Regions from separate parts of the Homo sapiens genome. Here regions 1, 3, 4 and 5 are each linked to region 2. The links are contacts of gene promoters, found by promoter capture Hi-C in blood cells and fetal thymus (Javierre and others, 2016). All regions are on one chromosome and are shown on one strand. Each heading gives the region's core, a stretch centred on a gene start or on the middle of the fragment in contact. The rest is flanking DNA. Distances are from core to core; before and after follow the strand shown. Region 1 overlaps NUP214 (nucleoporin 214). Region 2 holds the start of POMT1 (protein O-mannosyltransferase 1). Region 3 overlaps NUP214 (nucleoporin 214). Region 4 overlaps NUP214 (nucleoporin 214). Region 5 overlaps NUP214 (nucleoporin 214).

Evidence for each region. The method cuts DNA at HindIII sites, captures the fragments that hold promoters and counts their contacts. A CHiCAGO score of 5 or more calls a contact.
Region 1: a fragment that was not itself captured here is called in contact with the fragment with the promoter of POMT1 in region 2 in 1 of 17 cell types (non-activated CD4 T cells); the score reaches 5.5 in non-activated CD4 T cells.
Region 3: a contact is called between a fragment that was not itself captured here and the fragment with the promoter of POMT1 in region 2, in 1 of 17 cell types (non-activated CD4 T cells). The highest score is 6.6, in non-activated CD4 T cells.
Region 4: a fragment that was not itself captured here is called in contact with the fragment with the promoter of POMT1 in region 2 in 2 of 17 cell types (non-activated CD4 T cells and activated CD4 T cells); the score reaches 7.9 in non-activated CD4 T cells.
Region 5: a fragment that was not itself captured here is called in contact with the fragment with the promoter of POMT1 in region 2 in 6 of 17 cell types (non-activated CD4 T cells, total CD4 T cells, naive CD4 T cells and 3 more); the score reaches 7.5 in non-activated CD4 T cells.

What each region holds. Positions count from the first base shown.
Region 1 is chr9:131,206,247-131,209,186 of GRCh38, forward strand. All of the region lies in intron 30 of NUP214 (nucleoporin 214), which reads left to right. Among named protein-coding and RNA genes, the nearest start is that of FAM78A, 69 kb to the right of the region's middle. The HindIII fragment of the contact is 5,048 bases long and covers 1-2,940 here.
Region 2 is chr9:131,501,251-131,504,298 of GRCh38, forward strand. POMT1 (protein O-mannosyltransferase 1) reads left to right here and starts at 1,668. Exons shown (of 20, transcript NM_001077365.2): 1 at 1,668-1,823; 2 at 2,939-3,048. The coding sequence starts at 2,969. RefSeq lists enhancers at 1,454-2,321, 2,322-3,048, 2,559-2,618 and silencers at 1,569-1,768, 1,839-1,988. The HindIII fragment of the contact is 12,581 bases long and covers 1-3,048 here.
Region 3 is chr9:131,160,205-131,162,936 of GRCh38, forward strand. All of the region lies in intron 18 of NUP214 (nucleoporin 214), which reads left to right. Among named protein-coding and RNA genes, the nearest start is that of NUP214, 36 kb to the left of the region's middle. The HindIII fragment of the contact is 813 bases long and covers 890-1,702 here.
Region 4 is chr9:131,177,382-131,180,461 of GRCh38, forward strand. NUP214 (nucleoporin 214) reads left to right here. Exons shown (of 36, transcript NM_005085.4): 24 at 930-1,029. Among named protein-coding and RNA genes, the nearest start is that of NUP214, 53 kb to the left of the region's middle. The HindIII fragment of the contact is 2,208 bases long and covers 273-2,480 here.
Region 5 is chr9:131,127,412-131,130,360 of GRCh38, forward strand. NUP214 (nucleoporin 214) reads left to right here. Exons shown (of 36, transcript NM_005085.4): 2 at 113-308; 3 at 921-1,072; 4 at 1,868-2,066. Among named protein-coding and RNA genes, the nearest start is that of NUP214, 3.3 kb to the left of the region's middle. The HindIII fragment of the contact is 755 bases long and covers 1,147-1,901 here.

The sequences.
Region 1 (2,940 bases), core at 306-2,805, 300 kb before region 2:
GTGATTCTCCTGCCTTAGCTACCCAAGTAGCTGAGACTACAGGTGCACACACTGTGCCTGGCTAATTTTTTGTATTTTTTTGTAGAGACGGGGTTTCACATGTTGCCCAGGCTGGTCTTGAACTCCTGGGCTTAAGCAATCTGCCTGCCTCGGCCTCCCAAAGTGCTGAGATTAGAGACATGAGCCACTGTGCCCAACCCTCTTTTCTTTTTTTTTGAGACAGGATCTCACTCTGTCACCCAGGGTGGAGTGCAGTGGCACAGTCACAGGTAACTGCAGCCTTGATCTCCTGGGCTCAAGCAGTCCTCCTATCAGTTCTCCAGAATAGCTAGGTCCACAGGTGCACCACCACGCCCAACTAATTTTTTCAGTTTTTTGTAGAGATGGGGTCTCACCGTATTGTCTAGGCTGGTCTGTAACTCCTGGCCCAAGTGATCCTCCCACCTGGACCTCCCAAAGTGCTGATGAGATTACAGGCATGAGACACCATACCTGGTCTCATAGTAGAATATTATCCAGCTATGAAAAGGAGCAGATTTCAGCTCCATGTATAACTAACAAGCACAATGTTGAGCCAAAGAAATAGAAAACATCACTGTGATAAACTCCATATTGTTACTTCCCCTTCCACTCCGTATTCTTCCACCACGGAAATTATGTATGCAATTGGAAGGGCCAAAGATTGAAATCAAGGTTTTTTCTATGATGGCAGGGGCCTTATTGTTTTTATTGATTGCTGTATCTCCAATGCTTAGGACTATGTCTGGCACATGATAGGCATTGTGGAAATGAATGAACTTTCAGGTAGCAGAAGTATCCTCAGAAAACTCTAAAGATGCTAGGCAGATTCTGGCTAGGATGTAAAAGAATATAGAAAACCTTCACTGCCATAATAACACCAAGAAAAATCCAGATGATGTAGAAGTCACACTTACTCTGGCAGTATTGGAATTATTTACTGCTGTATAACAAATTGCCTCAAAACCTAGTAGCCTGCAACAGCTACTTATTTATTATAGTCTTGGATTCTGTAGGTCATAACTTCAGATGGACTTAGTAGGGATGGCTTGTCTTCACAGTATCTGTGATCTCAGCTGGAAGAAGGGAAGACTGGAGGCAGGAGTCATCTGAAGGCTCACTCTGATGTCAGTGGTTGGCTTGGCTGTTGGCTCAGACCTTAGCTGGAGCTGTTAGCTGAACACCTACATTTGGCCTATGTAGCCTGGGCTTCCTCACAACGTGGTGGCTAGGTTCCAAGGAGGAACATTCCAAGAAAGAGGAAGAGCCATGCTGAAGCTGTATAACCTTTTATGACCTATCCTCAGAAGTCACAGAACATCACTTAGGCTGCATCCTCTTCATCAAGGCACTCACAAAGTCCCATCCAGGTTCAAGAGGAGATACAGAGGCCGCCTCTTGCTCTAGAAGAGCATATGTGACTAGAAGTATTGCTGTGATCATCTTTGGAAAATATCTGTCATAATGGGACCATTGAAGAGTGGCAGAAAGCCTTGTTGAACTGGTTTCCAGAGAGTGGAGCCCATCATAGGTGTGAGCACTGTGGCACAGCAGCTGCTGGGGGCAGATGCCAGGTCTGGGTTTGAGCAGGTAGTAGAGAGGACTTGCCAAAGACTGAGAAAATGTACTGGCTGGAGAAGGAGCTGTTGGCAGTGATGGGGGCAAGCAAAATAAATGACCAGTAATTACATGAAAAGGTGATCAAGTAGCATTAAACTAATGAGGGAAATGAAAATCAAAACCACAATTAGATAAGATACCACTTCACACCCCCTAGGATGGCTATCATTTAAAAAGTAAAAAATAAAAATAACCAGTGTTAGCAATGATACAAAGAAATTAGAACCCTCATACATTGCTGATGGGAATGCAAAATTGTGCAGCTACTATAGTTTGGTGGTTTCTCAAAAAGCTAAATATAGTACTTCTACCATATGACCCAGCAATTCTGCTCTGGGGTAGAATACCCAAAGGAATTGAAAAAAAGGGATTCGAACAAATACTTGTACATCAATGTTCATTGCAGCATTATTCACAGTAGCCAAAAGGTGGAAACAACCCAAGTGTCAAACAGCAGATGAATGGATAAACAAAATGTGGTATATACATTCCATGGGATATTTTTCAGCCATAAAAAGGAGTGAAGTTCTTGGCCGGGTGCAGTGGCTCACGCCTGTAATCCCAGCACTTTGGGAGGCTGAGGCGGGCGGATCACGAGGTCAGGAGATCGAGACCATCCTGGCTAACACAGTGAAACCCTGTCTCTATTAAAAATACAAAAAATTATCCAGGCGTGGTGGCGGGTGCCTGTAGTCCCAGCTACTCGGGAGGCTGAGGCAGGAGAATGGCATGAACCCAGGAGGCAGAGCTTGCAGTGAGCCGAGATCGCGCCACTGCACTCCAGCCTGGGCGACAGAGCGAGACTCCGTCTCAGAACAAAACAAAACAAAAACAAAAGGAATGAAGTTCTCGGCTGGGCATGGTGGCTCACACCTTTAATCCCAGCACTTTGGGAGGCTGAGGCAGGCATATCATGAGTCAAGAGATGGAGACCATCCTGGCCAACATGGTGACACACCGTCTCTACTAAAAACAAAAATTAGCTGGGCATGGTGAAGCTCGCCGGTAGTCCCAGCTACTTGGGAGGCTGAGGCAGGAGAATCGCTTGAACCCAGGAGGCGGAGGTTGCAGTGAGCCGAGATCACGCCACTGCACTCCAGCCTGGGCGACAGAGTGAGACTCCATCTCAAAAAAATAAATAATAAAAAGGAATGAAGTTCTCATTCATGCTACATATAGATAAACTTTGAAAACCATATGCTAAGGCTGGGCGCAGTGGCACACACACCTGTGATCCCAGCACTTTGGGAGGCTGGGATGGGCAGATTGCTTGAGCTCAGGAGTTTGAGACTAGCCTGGGCA
Region 2 (3,048 bases), core at 418-2,917:
CCCTCAAGGGTAAGCCATAAAGAAGTAACCACGAAATTCTAACTGGTGTCATCTAATGCTATGTTGCCCAACATGGAAAAAAAGTCTTGCAGGCAGCCAAGAACCATAATGAAGGTTATTAAACCTGCAGTGTGCCCTTTTGGTCTGTATAGATTAACATACAAATAGACCAGGAGATCAAGAAGGAGCGAGGCTGAGAAGAGTGATCCATCAGCCTGGTTGCGTTGCTGTCAGTTACCCTGCTCTGGGTGCCGACTGTTCAGGGAAAACATGGGAAGGGGTGCATTGACCCAACCAAAAGTACCATGTCTGCTCCAAAGCAGGCCTTTGGGAAGGCTCTTGACCCTCAGCAGAGGGGGCTGGAGAGGCTGATGGATGAGGAGGAGCCCTGGGAATGGAGGAAGAAGCCTCCAGTCTTCTGCCACGGAGTTTAGGGGAGATGCCCCCACTGGAGCCTCTGATGGTCATGCAGCCCCCACTGATGTCCAGGTTTTTTTGGTTTTGTTTTTTGTTTTGAGACGGTCTCACTTTGTAGTCCAGGCTGGAGTGCAGTGGTGAGACCAAGGCTCACTGCAGCCTCGACCTCTCTGCCCCAAGTGATCTCCTGCCTCAGCCTCCCTTGTAGCTGGGACTGCAGGCAGACGCCAAGGGGCCCCGCTAATTTTTGTATTTTTTTGTAGAGACGGGGTCTCGCTGTGTTGCCCAGGCTCTCCTGGACTCAAGCGGGCTCACGGATCCTCCCACCTCGGCCACCCAAAGTGCTGGGGTTACAGGCGTGAGCCACCGCCCCCGGCCCTAGGTCCGTTTTAAATGCCCTTACCCTCAGCCACTTCACCGCTAGATGTATGTGCAAGCAGGATCGTGGCATCGATGTTTTTCGGCAAGGAAACTAGGAGCGCCCGCGGGCGTGGGGGCACGTGCCTGTGGTCTCAGCTGCTCTGGAGGCCGAGGAGGGAGGATCGCTTCGGGCAGAGAGGTCGAGGCTGCAGCAAGCCGTGGTCCTGCCACTGTACTCCAGCCTGGGCGACAGAGCGAGACCCCGTGTCTTAAAAAAAAAATTAAGGTCGGACGCAGTGGCTCACGCCTGTAATCCCAGCACTTTGGGAGGCCGAGGTGGGCGGATCACTTCAGGTCAGGAGTTCGAGACCAGCCTGGCCAACATGGTGAAACCCTGTCTCTACTACAAATACAAAAATTAACCGGGCGTGGTGGCGTGCGCCTTCAATCTCAGCTACTCGGGAGGCTGAGGCAGGAGAATCGCTTGAACCCGGGAAGCGGAGGTTGCGGTGAGCCGAGATCGCGCCATTGCACTCCAGCCTGGGCAACAAGAGCGAAACTCCGTCTCAAAAAAAAAGAAAAGAAAAGAAAAGAAAAAAACTAGGAGCAAACTGGCGCGCCCGGCAGAACGCCGTTGTGCAGACGCAGAATTAAGATCTTCACGCCAGATGGAGTGAAAAAGCAAGGAGCAGAAGATGGGTGGGAGCCCACTGCGCTTTTTAAAATCTGCACGTCTGCTTAGAGTACACAGAAATCCTGGCACACAAAACAGTAGCACCCGAGAGAGGGGAGGTCGCCGCGTTTCACACCTGCCTCTCCTCCGGGACCGGCGCCCTCGCCCGCTGCGCACGCGCGTCACCCTCTCCCAGTGCGCACGCGCGCTGCTGCCCGTCTGGCCCCGCAGGCTCGGTGAATCGAACGTTGAGCAGGGCGGTGGGTGGTGCGGAGTGCCGAGCGGCCTCACCCCCAACCGTCGGCCCAGTCGGACGGTTCCGAGGCGTTGCCGGGAGCCGGGCGCGGCTCTGTGTGGACTCGGAGAAACGCGGGTACATTTGGGGACACCGGGGACGAGAGCCCAGCCCGGACTTGGGGGAGTCCGTCAGTGCCGGACGCGGGTCCCTGGCTTGCGGACGGGCTGGGGCCGGGGGCGTCCCCGTCTTTCCGGAGCTGGGGGCGGGGTTCGGGCCCGGGCAGATGCGGCGTTCGGGCGGCCGAGCCCCGAAGTAAGAACTCCGTGGCGCGTGCAGCCCTAGGGAGGAAGGGCGTGCTGCGGGTGCAGTCTCAGGGTGAGGACGGAGCTGGGGCCGACGCAGCCTCGGGAGTTGGTGGACGGGACAGGTGCGGCCTGTGGGGAAGAAGGGCCGGCCAGGGAGATGCGGTCTGCAAGGGGAGAGGAGGCACTCCCAGGACAGATGGGACCTTTTGGGACGAAGGCGCTCAAGGCAGATGCAGCTCAGGGAGGGAAGGGCGCGTCCAGGGTAGATGGGGCCTGAGGAGACCAGCGGGGCGCCAACGGCCAGATGCGGCTTTGGTGTGAGACAGGGTGTCCCAGGCCTGATGCAGCCTCAAGAGAAGCGGAGCTCAAGGGAAGATGAAGCCTGGAGGAGAACGTGGGGGCGCAGGGTGCAAATGCACCCTCCAGGCGAGAAAGGGAGCACCCGGGGATGATGTGCCGCTGGGATAGAAGGCAGGGAGGCACTGGGGGCAGATGCATCCTTGAGGAGAGATGAGGAGGCCCCGAGGCTCGGCCAGGTTGGGGTCCCTGGGCTGTAAGCAGCTGAGATGGCACCCAGGAGCTGCCCAGGGTCAGGTAGCTGTGGCCGCACTGTGGGCTTCTGGTCGTCGGGGAGGGAGGGGAGAAACCCTGGCGTTCCTTAGCAGTGTTCTCGCGCCCAAGACGTGCTCGGCAGGTTTTGTGGAATGAGTTGTTGAAAGGAGTGAATGTCCAGTCCTGAGATCCCCTGAATTCCCACCCGAGTTCACTGCTAGTGCCCCTCACCCCACATGTCTACCTGAACCAAGGCTCCAGGAACTTCGGTCTTTCTCAGCAGCCCGGCTGTGCTGTGGTTCTCCTCGTGTGTCCGGGAGCCGGGTGGCTGGGGATCCCTTCTGTAGCCTCTCGTGAGCCCTCATGGACCACGGCTCCTCCCTTCTTTTCTAGGGCGTCTGCCTGAGCCCGCTTTTCTACAAGATGTGGGGATTTTTGAAGCGCCCTGTAGTGGTGACGGCTGACATCAACTTGAGCCTTGTGGCCCTGACTGGGATGGGGTT
Region 3 (2,732 bases), core at 46-2,545, 340 kb before region 2:
GTAATATAAAAATTTAATAAGTAAAAAGACAAAAGCATATTGGCTAATAAGAATGTGGAGGTACAAAAGTAAATAGATGTAACAAAATATTCGTAGTTATATCTGCAAAACGGGATTAAGGAGAATTTTCCGTAATACTCTTCTGTATATTTCAAATTTTCTTTTTTAGAAAACATTTGTAATTAGTGTGGATAATTAAAAAGATGAGAGAAATGATGGCAAAGTAATGGGAAAACCTTTTAGCATAGTTTTTTATCCCTAGATATTTGGTTTTAAGCCACATATTTTCCACAAGGAGTAGAATGTCATGCACCATGAGAGCATGAAGTGCCCATTAGAAATTTGAAAAATGAATCAGCCATGAAATGTTAGATTTCTGAAACACCTACACTTGATTAATGATTAGCTAGCCCTGTATGAAAACAAACCAAGAAATGGTCTATTTGATGTACTTTTCAGTGGGACAACCTGGGTGTGATATCAGGGACAGGACTATAATATGCTTATAATTTAGTAAGCACAATTCAATAAATTACATTGTGTTATGTGGAGAAAGGCTAAAAATCCCAACTGGAGGACCCTCAGCTTGCAGCATAGATAGGTATAGGGAGATAGAAGTGAGAAGCTCTCCTCCGCCACTATCTAAGGGGAGAATTCTGTGGCCTGTGGACTGGAGCACTTGTCTCCATGGGCAGTGGGGCCCCATTAGAGAACTAGCTCACACACCTGGTTCTGATTCATGTTTAACCATATGGTTTGCTTTCCCACAAGGGAAACAATGGTCTAACCTTACAGTGGGTACATTCTGCTCTGCTCAATGGTTGTATTTCTTTTTGGTAATTAACAAGTTAGCCTTGTAAGAAAGTGCATGATGCTTAAAGAGAAGCCAAGCTTTTTTTTCCTTTGTAACAATTCTGTGGATTTACTACTTATGCTTTTCTGAGTTCTCTTTCTGCAGAGTTCAAATTCTTAAATCTGTACAATTTTCTATTTTGATAGCACTTCTCTGTTTCAGGGCCATCCCTGAATATTACCTTGAACCCTATTGAAATGCCTTTTTTTTTTTTTTTTGAGACTAAGTCTCGCTGTGTCACCCATATTGGAGTGCAGTGGCGCGATCTCGGCTCACTGCAACCTCCGCCTCCGGGGTTCAGGCGATTCTCCTGCCTCAGCCTCCTTGAGTAGCTGGGATTACAGGTGCGTGCCACCACACCTGGCTAATTTTTGTATTTTTAGTAGAGATGGGGTTTCACCATGTTGGTTAGGCTGGTCTCCAACTCCTGACCTCGTGATCCACCCACCTCGCCCTCCCAGAGTGCTGGGATTACAGGCGTGAGCCACCGCGCCTGGCCTGAAATGCCTTTTAAAAATTATATGTTGAACTACCTTGTTACCAGAGGCAGTCATTCAAGTCAGCCCTGAACTCAAAGAGGTAATGGGAAAAAGGGAAATAAATCCAGAGGTTTCTGTTTAGCAAGCATTTTTCATTCCATGATTTGTGTTGAGGCAAAATATACATAGAGTCACTTGTTGCTTAACGTGCGTTCTGAGAATTTCATTGTTAGGCGATTTTGTCATTATATGATCATCACAGAATGTGCTTACACTATGTGTACTTATTACCTAGATGACATCACCTATTACACACCTAGGCGCTTATGGTGTATAGCCTGTTGCTCCTAGACCACAGTACCATACAGCAAGCTTGTCCAACCCACGGCCTGCAGGCTTCATGTGGCCCAGGACAGCTTTGAATGCAATCCAACACAAATTCGTAAACTTTCTTAAAACATTCTGAGATTTTTTTGATTTTTTTTTTAAGCTTATCAGCCAGCATTAGTATATTTTATGTGTGGCCCAAGACAATTCTTCCTCCAGTGTGGCCCAGGGAAGCAAAAGATTAGACACCCCTGCTGTACAGCATGGTTTTGTACTGACTACTATAGACAATTGTAACACAAATCACTAGGCAATAGGAATTCAGCTCTACTGTAATCTTATAGGATCATCGTTGTATATGCAGTCCATCATTGACCAAAATGTCGTTATGTGGCACATGACTGTATTGACATACCATAGCAAAGAAAATTTGGTTTATAACTGATGTGGGATTATTCCTTATGTTTTTATATGTATGATTTTTCCTATCCCCTCTGCAAATTAATGCAGTCAGAAAAAAATTTCAAAGCTACTTAAAGATTTCTACTGAAAAGCGGAAGCAAATAGACCTGTCGCCCTCTACAGTCAGACCTACTTCCCAGAGGCAGCTACTGTTGTCTCTGTCTTGTTTTAGTTCTTTTGGGCAGGTTACCTTCCTGATGCTAAATCTTATGCTGTCCCCCTATTTCTTGACAATAGTCTGAAGAATTAACTGACTCCCATAGACTTCCAGTGAACCTTTTTTTTTTAATTGAATATAATTTACATTCAGAAAAACAGATAAATTCTAAGTAGAAAGCTGACTGGCTTTTTCCTGGTTCCTGACTCACACCTCACTCCTGCCCTTTTCTTCCCAGGGCCTCTCTCAGGTTTCACCTAATGTATGCTGTCCTTTGCTACAGGACTGGCCTGCCTGTTTCCAGCTGTTTTCTCCACATTCCATTTTATCTTCATTAGGCTTTCATCTCCTTTTTATTTTCTAGTAATTTCTTAATGGTTCTTGTCCAGTGCTGGTTCTCCATTTTATCATTTTCACTGTTACCATTGTAGTCTTGTTTGTTTTTTTACTGGGA
Region 4 (3,080 bases), core at 127-2,626, 320 kb before region 2:
GTCAATGATCTGTAAAACGTTAAAATCTATTAGGATTGAGGATTGTTCCACTCAGCAGAAGGTGGTGTGATCTGTATTATCATGTTGGATGCAAAAATTTCTAAGGTATAGGCACCTTTGAATATGAAATATGAAAGATGTGCAGTCGTGGGCAAGATGTTCTGGTCACTTCTTTGAAAGAGGGAATAAAAGAGAATTAACTACAGGTCTGTCATTCTGCTTGTGATAACCACTTTCACCTTGGCCAGTGATGCAGTTAGTAATGAGCCACAAGCTTTGCTCAGGCTTCCTTAATTGCTAATTATAGAATGTCATTAAGTCTTTTGGGATACAATTTACAATTATAAGACGAAAGCTGATGAGGAGGTGTCAGATATATGCCTCTTAGTCTCTTCTCCCATTATTGTCCAAGCTCCATTTTCCACATTTTATTCATTATGCCTTTCTGTCTCACTAGGCCATGAGTTTCTTTAGAGAAGAAACTATAGATACATTTTGTATTCGCAGCCCCTAACACAGAGCCTGGCACATAATAAGCCCATGTTAAAGAAAGACAGTGAATGAGTGGCAGAAATCCTGAGTCTAGATGCTGTTAATCCTCTAGCTCAAGCTGCCCTTTTCCAGGACAGACCAGCAGTGTGGCAGGTGTCTCAGCTCTGTGTAGAAAAGCTGGCCAGAGAATTCTTTTCCCCTACTCTAGTACATTCGATTCAGTTACAGGAAGCCTTGTTCCATCACCTGTGTTAATGGAGTAGGCCAGGTGTTCCTTTGAACACAATGCTGCAAGAACTACCTAGAGTAGATTTCCTTCACATGATAAGGCTCTAATCTGCTTGGGCTCATGTCTTGGTTTTTCATTTATATGTGGCTAGAACTTTTTATCCTTTGCTGGAATTAATATGGTGTTCTCTCTTCTCTGTTTAAATTAGCTGTAAACACTTTGACTGAATCAACGTTGAAGAATGTCCCTCAAGTGGTAAATGTGCAGGAATTGAAGAATAACCCTGCAACCCCTTCTACAGCCATGGGGTATGTTCTGACTGCAGTGTGTTTCAGCCCCTGGCTGCTTCTGTAGTAGCGGTGGACTGCCTGCAGGGAGCAGCAGTGCCACTGTCACAGTCTGGTTTTCCTGCACCGCCTTAGGTTATAAGGGGGGTGGCGGCTAAGCCTGCCTACACAATGCATTTTCAGGAGACTGTCCTTTTTAACTGGCCGGTGACAGTTGCCTCACAAACTTTTAAAGTTTGTCTTGATGCTGTATGCTCAGTTTCTGTTTGCCATGTGTAAGTCTCTGTGTGGTACACATTAGGTGTGCAGGTTGATTTTTTTTTTTTTTTTAATGCCCTAGGGGTTCCAGAGTTGATGCTTTGGGTCTCATGCAGACTTGATTCTGGAAACTGTAATCTCAAGGGTGACACTCTCCTCCCTCACTTCCCTTCTCCAGGCATTTCTGTTCTTCCCATTTCTTTTGCTTTTGTATAAAAGACAGCACCTCTGTTTGGAGACTTTAGCTTCTCTGCCATGCCATGTTTGAGGGCTGGATTGTTGCTGGTGGAGCTCACTTGTTTTTTTGGTGGTGGTGGTGGTTTTGTTGTTGTTGTTGTTGTTGTTTTTTGTTTTTTGTTTTTTCTTAGACAAGGTCTCACTCTTGCCCAGACTGGAGTGCAGAGTGCAGTACGATCATGGCACACTGTAGCCTTAACCTTCTGGGCCCAAGCCATGCTCCCATATCTGCCTCCCAAGTAGCTGCTGGGACTACAGGCACATGACACCACACCCAGCTAATTTTTTAATTTTTTGTAGAGATGGAGTTTTTGCCATGTCACCCCAGGCTGGTCTCAAATTTCTGGGCTCAAGTGATCCTCTCACCTCATCCTCACAAAGTGCTGTGATTATAGGCAGGAGCCACTGTGCCCAGCCTAGCTCATTTGTCTTTAGTCCTCATCTGTGTTCGGAATTCAGGGTGCTGACTCCCTCCCGCTGCCCTGGGCAGGTTCGCAGAACATGCCTGTGCCCTGCTTTGCCCTGCATATTTTGTGACTGTGATCCCTTTAGACCAACCACCATCCCCTGTGGCAAAGGGAAGAGTTGAGGGACATTTCCTCACTTGGAACATGGGGATCTTGAGGACTAGTATCAGATTTCAGGGAGTTAGTGTCTGGTACCCATGATTAGTCTAGCAGCAAGAAGGGCAGCCATAGACCTTGTGGTTCTCCACAGCGTGCCCACCCTCTGCCATTGCACAGAGCAGATCTGCCCACGGTTCTGTTTTCCCTCTCTCAAGTGGCCCTGCCTCACTGGTCCGCTGGCCTCTTTTTTTCCATGTTGTTCTGTTTATCAACACTGCTTGTTTGAGGAATTTTTAGTTATCTCAGGGCCATACTAACAGCCAAAAAACAAGCCTTCTCTATTACTATTTTGTAGTGACCTCGGAGCCTTGGTATGCTGTTTAGACCAAGATGGTATTTGTGGTTGTTGCAAGCTTTTCAAGGGAAAGAACTATGCATTAGAGTTTGGGAATTGTAGCCAGATTCCCAGCATAGGGAAGGCAAGGCAGAATGTTACATAAGATGGGAAAACTCAGCATATGGTACAGGAAGTATTGTCTAGTGTTTCTGAGATATATTAGGTGCTAACCATGTATGAGAAGCACCTTTTGGAGATTCCACTTCTCCTTTTCTCAAGCTTCATTTCCCTAAATGGTTCATCTGAGCTGATCTTTGATGAAGGGTTTGTTCAAGGAGTAATTTTGAGTCTACTCTTTCTGACAAAAAATCTCAGACAACTTAAGAAATCTTGAAGAAACTTTCTGTTCCATTCTCCACAGAATTAGACTCTGGTATAATTATTTCATGTGTATGCCCAGCATGGTGCCTGAAATGTAGAAGCATTCCTTTCAATAATCATTTATTGAATAATAGGTAAACTCTACTCCAAACATAAATTGAAAAGTGAAAATTGGTGTTTACTGCCACCCCTCCCCAGGAAAGATCGAGAGAATATGTTCATTGTAAAATGACTTGCTTTCAGATTCTTTTATGTTTTATTTTTAAAATTATTTTCAGCCAGCTCTCGTGGAA
Region 5 (2,949 bases), core at 274-2,773, 370 kb before region 2:
CCTTGGTCTCAGTAATACATATTTTTGTTGTACTGAAATTGGGTCTACTGAATATAACATGTTTTAATTTCTTTCTTTATTGAATTGATCTCGTTTTGATTCTTCACAACAGGATTTTCAGTTTAGAGCGCTAAAGAAGGTGAGAATCTTTGACTCCCCTGAGGAATTGCCCAAGGAACGCTCGAGTCTGCTTGCTGTGTCCAACAAATATGGTCTGGTCTTCGCTGGTGGAGCCAGTGGCTTGCAGATTTTTCCTACTAAAAATCTTCTTATTCAAAATAAACCCGGAGATGATCCCAACAAAATAGGTAAGTTCCCTGGTTTATGTTGCAAAGTAGAGAGAGGAGTATGGTGGCATGCTCTTGTGTTTCCTTCCCAAGAAGTCATTCTAATACTAAAATGAACACTGCTGTCAGTTTGAAGGTTGACTCCCAAGAAGATTAATGGAAGCCTTTCTAGGTTTTCTCCTTGGTCCTTTGTATTTCTCCTTACATGAGTTGTTCCTCTCAGCTCAACAGGGAAGAACTTAACCATTATGCCATGCTTTTATTTTTGCTCAGTTGAACTTGGGCTCTGGCTCTCTGGGTGAAGGGTTTTATTGGCATGGGTTTTCAGTTGGCACAACAGTATGATCCAAACTATTGGCAAGGTGTACTATTTAGAGCATTGTTGCAAAAATATTTTCAACAAGGGCAGCAGCCACAGTTAGTTTCCCCAGATTGTATGAGGAAGAATTCCAGGGATACTTAATCCATCATTATATATCTTTAAGAAAGTTAAGATTTATCTGTATAACTAGGTATTGGGGTGTATGTGTGTTTATGTAGATGCAAAAATTTTTTCACATCGAACTGGATAGAGGTTGTGGCTTTATGCTTAGAACATACCGTTTTCTGCTTTGTATTTTTTTGTTTTCATAGTTGATAAAGTCCAAGGCTTGCTAGTTCCTATGAAATTCCCAATCCATCACCTGGCCTTGAGCTGTGATAACCTCACACTCTCTGCGTGCATGATGTCCAGTGAATATGGTTCCATTATTGCTTTTTTTGATGTTCGCACATTCTCAAATGAGGTAAGCTACTGTTATACTGTGATGTCAACATGAGAACCCTAAGCAGATTTCCTTGTATTGAATTACAACTTGGAAGCTTCATAGGTTAACCCTTGAAGTTTCTCTCTAGATTAAAATATGGGTTAAAAAAAAATCCTTAATTATAGAATCATAGATCTTTGAGACAGAAGGGACTTCAAGAAATTCTTTCATAACGCCATCTGCCCTAAGTTGTTATCAGGAGGCTTAGGTGACTTGCCCAAAGTCATAGATGAATACATAATGTCAAAAGTTCCTACATTTTGGATGTTCTTCCATTCCAAGCAGTTTAAGAATGATAATAATAGTGAGTGTTTATACTGACTGTGTGTGTTAGACTCTGTACTAAGTGCTTTATATGCCTTGTCCCTCGTTCATGCCTACCACAGCCTTATGTAGTAGGTACTATTATCTTCATTTTATAGGTAGAGAAACAGGCTCAGAGTTTAAGTAACTGTCCAAGGTCCCAACATTATTAAGAAGCAGAGCCAAGATTTTAATCTATTGTCTGCTATTTATTGGTTATTTTGCAATTGTGCATTCCCCTTCTGAGAGTCCCCCTAAGCATGTTAGAATAATTGATTGCCATTTTCAAAGTTGTGTTGAAATTGTCTATAGCAAATAGATTGATGCATAAAACAATCTTTTTTTATGGTTATGGAGAAAAATAAACTGATTTGAGATACCTTGTGTATTCAGTAATTTCCATTGAATATTAAATGTTTCTGCATTTACTATTTGTTAACTTATTTCACTTTTGCATATTTGTTTTAAAAGGCTAAACAGCAAAAACGCCCATTTGCCTATCATAAGCTTTTGAAAGATGCAGGAGGCATGGTGATTGATATGAAGTGGAACCCCACTGTCCCCTCCATGGTGGCAGTTTGTCTGGCTGATGGTAGTATTGCTGTCCTGCAAGTCACGGAAACAGTGAAAGTATGTGCAACTCTTCCTTCCACGGTAGCAGTAACCTCTGGTGAGTAATAAAGGCTTTCACACTGTAGCATACAATCATGGTCATCTACTTAAGAATTGATTTCTAGAAGTGAAAGTGGATAGCTTTTTGTGTTTTGGTTTTTTTTTTCATGACGAGGGAGGTTAAGGATGGAAGGTATTCTTTTTTGAGACAGTCTCACTGTGTCGCCCAGGCTGGAGTACAGTGGCATCATCTCAGCCACTGCAACCTCCACCTCCTGGGTTCAAGCAATTCTCGTGCCTCGGCCACCCAAATAGCTGGGATTATAGACATGCGCCACCATGCCCAGCTAATTTTTGTATTTTTTGTAGAGACAAGGTTTCACCATGTTGGCCAGGCTGGTCTTGAACTCCTGACCTCAAGTGATCTGCCCTCCTCCACCCCGCATATGCTAGGATTACAGGTGTGAGGCACTGTGCCCGGCTGAGAGTATTCTTTATACCCATAGTTAATGTCCTTGAAGCCAAACAGCATACATAATTTAACCTGAATGTACTTGGGATTTCTGGAGAAATATTTTGGTACAGCTGGTTTAGAAGTGTTTTTTGGGAATAATTGTTTCTGGATCTGTAACGGTGGTACTCTGAAAGTCATTTGTACCTTTGGGCGGAAAAGCATTTTAAATATTAAATGGGAGCAGGAGAATGATTTCTGGTTTTGTTTTTTTTTTTTTGTTTTTTTTTTGAGACAGAGTCTTGCTCTGTCGCCCAGGCTGGAGTGCAGTGGCGCGATCTCAGCTCACTGCAACCTCCACCTGCTGGGTTCAAGCAATTCTCTTGCCTCAGACTCCAGAGTAGTTGGGATTACAGGTGCCTGCCACCATGCCCAGCTAATTTTTGTATATTTTAGTAGAGACGGGGTTTCACCATGTTGGCCAGGCTGG